Linked DNA regions of Homo sapiens: all the other regions are linked to region 3. Evidence: promoter capture Hi-C in 16 types of primary human blood cells and fetal thymus (Javierre and others, 2016). All regions are on one chromosome and are shown on one strand. The core of a region is centred on a gene start or on the middle of the fragment in contact, and the rest is flanking DNA. Distances in the headings are between cores, read along the strand shown. Region 1 holds the start of RABGAP1 (RAB GTPase activating protein 1). Region 2 overlaps RC3H2 (ring finger and CCCH-type domains 2). Region 3 holds the start of NDUFA8 (NADH:ubiquinone oxidoreductase subunit A8).

Region 1 (2,713 bases), core at 173-2,672, 780 kb before region 3:
CCTCAACCTCCTAAAATGCTGGATCACAGGCGTGAACGCACCCGGCCCCTATTTTCAGTTTTCATAAGTAAGCTCTAGTTAAGTCTTCAATACATATTAAATAGCACCTTATACAAACTTGAACTAAGGCAACACGTCCTTCGTTTAAAAAAAAGTTGGATGAACCCTCCTTAGTACCTAAGCTTTTTTTCCCAACTACTTTTCAAACATCAGTTTAATGTTACAAACACAATTCCATTCACCTTCCGTTGTTTTTTTGTTTTGTTTTGTTTTGTTTTTTGTTTCCGAAACAAAAACAGCTGGAAACTCACTTATTGTGTACTTACTACTCCAGGCACACGTTTGTAAATACATGTGAATGGAAATATAAAAGGAATTGTGAAACCCTGTCCCTAACAGGTTTTTTTCCCTGACAAAAAGCCAACGAAAGTCAAAAGACCTCAAATTCAAGTTGGAACATGATTTAAAACTAACGGAGCACTAGTAGCGGGAACACTAGCAGCATGATCACTTAACACGGTCTCCTAGGACATTTGTTTCCAAAAAAGAATTCTCGAGTAACCAAAGGTATGCAGATGCGTGAAACGCAGGAGCAGATGATAAACAGTCTGGATGCAGAAGAGCAGAGACCAAAGTACTACCAGGCAATGGACAGCGAACTCCTGGAAGTCTTGAGGTTATCCTTTGGCTCAACACGTAAAACCCTAAGGGTGCGGATAATCAAAAGACACAGCGATGAGGTACTGGGGTAGCTGCTTCAAGGAGATGAGAAGACTGGGATGCCAAGAACGCTTTAATTGCAGACGGGGAAATGAGACTGAAAGACCAACCTGAGATGGCAAAGCGACAGTGAAAACTAGCAAGTCTTTGAAATTTAGGCGCAGCCCAGGACAGCCTGAGGCCCAGGCTAGCTTAAGTCACAGATACAGGCCTAGTGAGCAATGGGGAGAAACTGAGGCGGGGGGGAGCGGCTGGATTCCCAAATAGGACCAAGCATAAAACATTAAAGTCAAGACACAAACCGGCTTTGCTGGGGGACCAGAGGGAGGGCCAAAAACGCAAGACTCAGAAGACCGGCACCCACACAGACAGGGGGAACCGGTTTGGGCAGGGGCTCCCAGAGCGGCCCAGCCTGCGCATGCGCCCTCTCCCCTCCGTCGCAGTTCCCCCTCCCCCCAATCACGGCTCCCCTCAGAACTCGGCCCGTCGAGGGAGCTGAGAGCAGCTCCACTGGCCCGACCCCGCGGGATGAGAAGACAGCTTGGCTCCCCGCAGGGGCCGTCGGAAAATACCCCTGGGGTTGGTAGGTAGGAGGGTGGGAGGAGGAGGAGGGGAAACACGGCCCTACCCGACCTGCCGTCTCCTCCTCCGCCGCCCGCCGCTCGCCGTCCCGGAGGCTCCGCCGCCTGGGCCTCCCAAACCGCCCTGTCCCCGCCCCCCCACCCCTTTACTCACGTGAGAGCGACTTCTTCCGCCCTCCGCCCCGCCCCCTGCCCCGTCTCATAGGTCTGCGACCATGACGAGCGACCCTATTGGCCCAATACCGGGAAGCGAGGCGGAGCTTCCTCTTCTCCGAGCCCCACCTGGGCTTTCAGCCCGCCTCAGGACTGTGCGCCTGCGCGAAGTGCACTGGCTGTGAGCTGGACCTGGGCTGTCTTGTGTATTTGGAGTTGGACAGCCAACTACGTGACTGCAGCCGGGACTGGGGACGATGGAAGCGGACTGGGTAGTACCTGTTGAGCCTAACAAAGGGTACAACCCCAGAGTACTGGTGCTTGAGCAAGGAATCCCCCTGCTCACCTTTCATGTGCAAGTCCTGTTTGAAAATCAGTACTTCACAGTGTAATAAAATTCACCTGGCATTTACTGAGGGCGCACGGTGTGTCAGGGATTGTGATGGTTCTTTATGTGGCTATCTCATTTCAGCTTCACCACAAACCCGTCAGAATGGTACCATTTTTCTCCTTTTATAAAGTAATTTAGCTTTAGTTACAGAATCCAGTCTAGAAGTCAAAACTTCCGACTGCCAAGTCCTAAAACCACTGGTACAACACAGCTGCCTAAAGGCATTTAAGGCACACAAGAGGACAGAAATGGACAAGGTTACATCAGATTGTGACTCAAAGATGAGATTTTTATTTAAAAATCATTCAAAGGTGAAACACAGCAACAGCAATATAATGAAGTTTAAAGTCCCTGTCCTCAATGAATGTACAATGCAGTTGGGAACAAAAACAATGATTATTAAAGTGCTAGTTAAGTCTTATTTTTAAAGAGACCCTATCTTGTCCAGGATGCAGTGCTGTGGCTATTCACAGACGATCATATCACACTCCACCCTCGAACTCCTGGGCTCAAGCTATCCTACCACCTCAGCCTCCTGAGTAGCTGGGACTGTACATAGGCATGCACCACTGCACCTGGCTCATAAGACTTGATAATTTATAAAATAATTCTACAGCCTCTTCCTTACTCTTCCCCTTTATTTATTCCAACTGGCATATGCTCTTTTCCTGGTGAGTGAGTCGTCTACAGTGTTTTCTGGTGGATAATGCATCCCGATCAACCAGAGAAAAAACAGTGAGAAAAATCTGTGTTCTGTTGCAATCCCTCTGTGATTTGTCTAATACAATAGATGTGGGTGTACCCCTGCAGAAAAATAGTTTCGCTTCCTTTCTCCTTATACAGTTACAAAATATCCATTTCAAGATAT
Region 2 (2,700 bases), core at 150-2,649, 690 kb before region 3:
CATGCAACAGAAGTGGAATTCCCTGGATGAAGGCCGTCACCTTACCTTAAACCTTTTAAGCAAGGAAATTGAACTAAGAAATGGAGAGGTAAAGAAACTGAACCTTTCGGCTTCATGCTTAATGTATTTGTTTTCTGCTGCTGCATCTTGGTTATACCATTACTGAGTGCATTTTGGTGTGCCTATCTCTGATGGATGATTGATTGCTTTTAAAACTTATAACAGAAATAAAATTGTAATCCCAGATTTCTTAAATAATTCTTTAACTAGATCATCGGGATTTTTGTTTTTTTGAGATGGAATCTTGCTCTATCGCCTGGAGTGCAATGGCACGATCTTGGCTCACTGCAGCCTCTGGCTCTCAGGTTCAAGCGATTCTCCTGCCTCAGCTTCCCGAGTAGCTGGGATTACAGGCACCCACCACCATGCCCAGCTAATTTTTGTGTTTTTAGTAGAGACAGGGTTTCACCATGTTGGCTAAGCTGGTCTTGAACTCCTGACCTCAAGTGATCTGCTCGCCTCACCTTCCCAAAGTGCTAGGATTACAGGTGTGAGCCCCCGTGCCTGGCTGATCATTGGGATTTTTTACTTTAATTTAAAAGGGAAACCCCAGGTTCCACAGGTATAAAATCAGTATTTTTCTTTTTTTTTTTTTTTTTTTATTGATCATTCTTGGGTGTTTCTCACAGAGGGGGATTTGGCAGGGTCATAGGACAATAGTGGAGGGAAGGTCAGCAGATAAACAAGTGAACAAAGGTCTCTGGTTTTCCTAGGCAGAGGACCCTGCGGCCTTCCGCAGCGTTTGTGTCCCTGGGTACTTGAGATTAGGGAGTGGTGATGACTCTTAATGAGCATGCTGCCTTCAAGCATCTGTTTAACAAAGCACATCTTGCACCGCCCTTAAGCCATTTAACTCTGAGTGGACACAGCACATGTTTCAGAGAGCACAGGGTTGGAGGTAAGGTCACAGATCAACAGGATCCCAAGGCAGAAGAATTTTTCTTAGTACAGAACAAAATGAAAAGTCTCCCATGTCTACTTCTTTCTACACAGACACGGCTACCATCCGATTTCTCAATCTTTTCCCCACCTTTCCCCCCTTTCTATTCCACAAAACCGCCATTGTCATCATGGCCCGTTCTCAATGAGCTGTTGGGCACACCTCCCAGACGGGGTGGTGGCTGGGCAGAGGGGCTCCTCACTTCCCAGTAGGGGCGGCCGGGCAGAGGCGCCCCTCACCTCCCGGATGGGGCGGCTGGCCAGGCGGGGGGCTGACCCCCCCACCTCCCTCCCGGACGGGGCGGCTGGCCGGGCAGAGGGGCTCCTCACTTCCCAGTAGGGGCGGCAGGGCAGAGGCGCCCCTCACCTCCCGGACAGGGCGGCTGGCCGGGTTGGGAGCTGACCCCTCCACCTCCCTCCCGGTCAGGGCGGCTGGCCGGGCCGGGGGCTGACCCCCACACCTCCCTCCCGGACGGGGCGGCTGGCCGGGCGGGGGGCTGACCCCCCCACCTCCCTCCCGGACGGGGCGGCTGGCTAGGCAGAGGGGCTCCTCACTTCCCAGTAGGGGCGGCCGGGCAGAGGCGCCCCTCACCTCCCGGACGGGGCGGCTGGCCAGGCGGGGGGCTGACCCCCCCACCTCCCTCCCGGACGGGGCGGCTGCCGGGCGGAGACGCTCCTCACTTCCCAGACGGGGTGGCTGCCAGGCAGAGAGGCTCCTCACTTCTCAGACGGGGCGGCTGCCGGGCGGAGAGGCTCCTCACTTCTCATACGGGGCGGCTGCCGGGCGGAGGGTCTCCTCACTTCTCAGACGGGGCGGCCGGGCAGAGACGCTCCTCACCTCCCAGACGGGGTGGCGGCCGGGCAGAGGCATTCCTCACATCCCAGACAGGGCGGCGGGGCAGAGGCGCTCCCCACATCCCAGACGACGGGCGGCCGGGCAGAGACGCTCCTCACTTCCTAGATGTGATGGCGGCCGGGAAGAGGCGCTCCTCACTTCCCAGATGGGATGGCGGCCGGGCAGAGACGGTCCTCACTTTCCAGACTGGGCAGCCAGGCAGAGGGGCTCCTCACATCCCAGACGATGGGCGGCCAGGCAGAGACGCTCCTCACTTCCCAGACGGGGTGGCGGCCGGGCAGAGGCTGCAATCTCGGCTTTTTGGGAGGCCAAGGCAGGCGGCTGGGAGGTGGAGGTTGTAGCGAGCCGAGATCACGCCACTGCACTCCAGCCTGGGCGCCATTGAGCACTGAGTGAACCAGACTCCGTCTGCAATCCCGGCACCTCGGGAGGCCGAGGCTGGCAGATCACTCGTGGTTAGGAGCTGGAGACCAGCCCGGCCATCACAGCGAAACCCCGTCTCCACCAAAAAAATACGAAAACCAGTCAGGCGTGGCGGCGCGCGCCTGCAATTGCAGGCACTCTGCAGGCTGAGGCAGGAGAATCAGGCAGGGAGGTTGCAGTGAGCCGAGATGGCAGCAGTATAGTCCAGCTTCGGCTCGGCATGAGAGGGAGACCATGGAAAGAGAGGGAGAGGGAGACCATGGGGAGAGGGAGACCATGGGGAGAGGGAGAGGGAGAGGGAGAGCAAAATCAGTATTTTTCTTAGTTACAGAGTGATTATACAGAAGATGCAACAGATACTAAACCTGATAGGGATATCGAGTTAGAGCTTTCAGCACTTGATACTGATGAACCTGATGGAC
Region 3 (2,730 bases), core at 221-2,720:
CCTATTAACTCAGAATGCCCTGGAATTCCACCAACTTGTGAATACAGAGCCCCAAGGTGGGAGTGCTTCACAGTCCCGACAACTAGCACTGGTTCAGCAAACCACTTCATATCGTCCAGCCTTGGTTTCCTCAGCTATAAAAACAGAGATTCCACTTTCTTCATCCAGGGTGGTTGGCAAAAAAGAGTGGCCACCTCTGTGTTTCCTCTGCTTCTCTCTACTACAGCTCTTACCACACTGAATCGCAGTTATCTGTTATGTCTACTTGTCGCATCATGTTTGAATGAACTTTCTGAAGACAGGGATTGTGCCCAGAGTCAATTACAGGGCCTGGTACTCGGTAGCCACTCAACATTGTTGAATTGCTGGGCACGGTGGCTCATGCAAGAGGATCACTTGAGCCCAGGAGTATGAGACCAGCTTGGACAACATAGCAAGATGCCGTCTCTACAAAAGGCGTTGAAAAATTTGCTGGGGGTAGTGGTGCACACCGGTAGTCTCAGCTACTTGGGAGGCTGAGGTGGGAAGATTGTTTGAGCCTAGGGGGTTGAGGCTGCAGTAAGCAGTGAACAGGCCACTGCACTCCAGCCAGGGCAACAGAGCGAGATCTTGTCTGAAAATAAAACAAAAACGAGAGAGAAAGAAAGAAAGAGAGGAAGGTAGGAAGGAAGGAAGGAAGGAAAAAAGGAAGGAAGGAAGGAAGGAAAAGAAAAGAAAAAAAAACTGTTGAATTGTTTTTTACTACTAGTCCACTACAGTGATTTGTGTATATAATCCTCTATAATAATCCCTAGATCGTGAACTCCTCCTGGAAGGAAGCGACCGTGTAGATTCAGATTAGCCAGTCTCTCTTCCCTAATCTTCGTGTTTGTTTTTATAGCATTTACCATTATCTGTAATTATTTTATCACTTATTTGTTTATTGGCAATACATCTCCAACTGGATTATAAACTCCATAAGAGCAAGGATCTTGACATTTTAAATATTCTTATTCCTATGTTTAAAACTGGCAGATAGCACACACACACAGTCAATGCACACACACATATAAGTATATATGGAATGAATGCATCTTAGCTTTGCTGCTTATTAGATATGGTCCTTGAAAAAATTACTCGGGCAAGTTTGTGAAAGTGCCTGGCACAAGGTGTTTCGCAGAAGCAAAAAGCCGTCTTTTTCCAGTCACAGCTATTCAAGGTATAGTAAGTGAATCAAATGAGCCCCTTACCTCCCATCTACATATTCCCCGATATATTTGCTCCCTGTGTACTCCATGGCGCCTGTTTTTAGCTTCCAGCTGTTAGGATCCGGAGTCTCAGTGGATACGGCATCACTATGACAACCTGGAGGGGTGGGCGGAGCCGAATCGAAGCCCCACCCCGCTGGAGGCTGAAAAGTTCTTGGTATTGCGCACGCTCCCTCGCTCGTGGTTGGGCAGGGCAATACGCCTGCGTGTTGCCGGATGCGCATGCGCAGGCGCCGTGTGGCACTCGGCGGTCGAAAGGGGAGTTCAAGGAGACGGGGGCGACGCGGCTGAGGGCTTCTCGTCGGGGTCGGGGCTGCAGCCGTCATGCCGGGGATAGTGGAGCTGCCCACTCTAGAGGAGCTGAAAGTAGATGAGGTGAGGCTATCCGGAGGACAGGCAAGGGAGACATGGGGCTGCGGCTTCTCGGGCCTGGGCCTAGCCCCCCTTGGGCTCCGCGGATCCTGGGACCCGGGCCCCCCTCCCCAGTCCTCCAACGCATATACAGGTCGACCCCCGGAGGTCCCCTCCGCAGCTTTGGGAGTCGCCTCCCCTCTCTACCCCACCCTGTCGCATCTTGCAGTGGCTCTAGAATCCTCCCCCTTTCGCCCTCCACAGCGACCTATTTCTCCTTCCGTGAATAATAGTGATACATTTTATTAAGCACCAACCAGTCATTTTACTTAGCTTATGTCGCTTAATCCTCAAACTTGCATGCGAGGTGAGTATACAACCCTAGGGGCTCACAGTCGAGGGAGACGGTCATCTACCTTAAAGTGGTATCACCGGTGCAGAGTGCATAGAGTGGGGTGACGAAGCCGCGGGAAAATGAGACAATATTGGAGCGTGCATCTACTCACAGCCTTGGGAAGGTGTTTGGTAACAGGACCCATTTAAAGCATTCGTTTATTCAAGAGATATCATTTCAGTAATTAACGTGTACACATAACGCTGGAAGAGATATACTTCGTGCTTTCATGGACTTTACAATCCAGTAGGGAGACAGACACATAAAGAGGCAGTCACAGTACAATGTAGTTAGTGCTGTGAGGAGTGAAGTAGAAACATACCCTACTAATTATAGCTAACATGATCAAGTCCTTTCTAGATACCAGGCAGGATGCTAATTACTTTCCATGCATTAATTCATTGAATCCTCCCAGCAACACTATAAGGTAGGATATATATATATATACACACACATACACATATATATACACACACACAATTGGTGTGTATATATATATACCATATATATATATACACAATTGGTGTATATATATATATGTATATACCATATATATATACACACACACAATTGGTCATATATATATATATACACACACACACACAATTGGTCGTAGCGTTATAAATAAGGAATTAGTCCCCGAGAGTAGAAATGATTTGCCCAAGGTCACGGAGCTCGTAAGTAATAGAGCTGGAAGTGAACCCAAGTCTGATTTTAAAACCAATGCTTTTCCACTAT

Evidence for each region. Contacts are between HindIII fragments. The CHiCAGO score rates a contact against its expected background, and 5 or more counts as called.
Region 1: a contact is called between the fragment with the promoter of RABGAP1 here and the fragment with the promoter of NDUFA8 in region 3, in 3 of 17 cell types (total CD4 T cells, naive CD4 T cells and non-activated CD4 T cells). The highest score is 10.5, in total CD4 T cells.
Region 2: a contact is called between a fragment that was not itself captured here and the fragment with the promoter of NDUFA8 in region 3, in 1 of 17 cell types (naive CD8 T cells). The highest score is 5.9, in naive CD8 T cells.

What each region holds. Positions count from the first base shown.
Region 1 is chr9:122,939,729-122,942,441 of GRCh38, reverse strand. RABGAP1 (RAB GTPase activating protein 1) reads right to left here and starts at 1,422. Exons shown (of 26, transcript NM_012197.4): 1 at 1,349-1,422. It overlaps LOC105379839 (a long non-coding RNA gene), which reads left to right and starts at 1,194. Exons shown (of 2, transcript XR_001746924.3): 1 at 1,194-1,303; 2 at 1,507-1,866. RefSeq lists silencers at 1,153-1,482, 1,493-1,652 and enhancers at 899-1,623, 1,813-1,882. The HindIII fragment of the contact is 5,356 bases long and covers 185-2,713 here.
Region 2 is chr9:122,851,340-122,854,039 of GRCh38, reverse strand. RC3H2 (ring finger and CCCH-type domains 2) reads left to right here. Exons shown (of 21, transcript NM_001100588.3): 18 at 1-88; 19 at 2,604-2,700. Among named protein-coding and RNA genes, the nearest start is that of PDCL, 24 kb to the right of the region's middle. RefSeq lists an enhancer at 1,903-2,678. The HindIII fragment of the contact is 6,549 bases long and covers 1-2,700 here.
Region 3 is chr9:122,158,519-122,161,248 of GRCh38, reverse strand. It overlaps NDUFA8 (NADH:ubiquinone oxidoreductase subunit A8), which reads left to right and starts at 1,470. Exons shown (of 4, transcript NM_014222.3): 1 at 1,470-1,622. The coding sequence starts at 1,572. MORN5 (MORN repeat containing 5) reads right to left here and starts at 1,341. Exons shown (of 5, transcript NM_198469.4): 1 at 1,230-1,341. The coding sequence starts at 1,276. RefSeq lists an enhancer at 1,265-1,559. The HindIII fragment of the contact is 8,418 bases long and covers 1-2,730 here.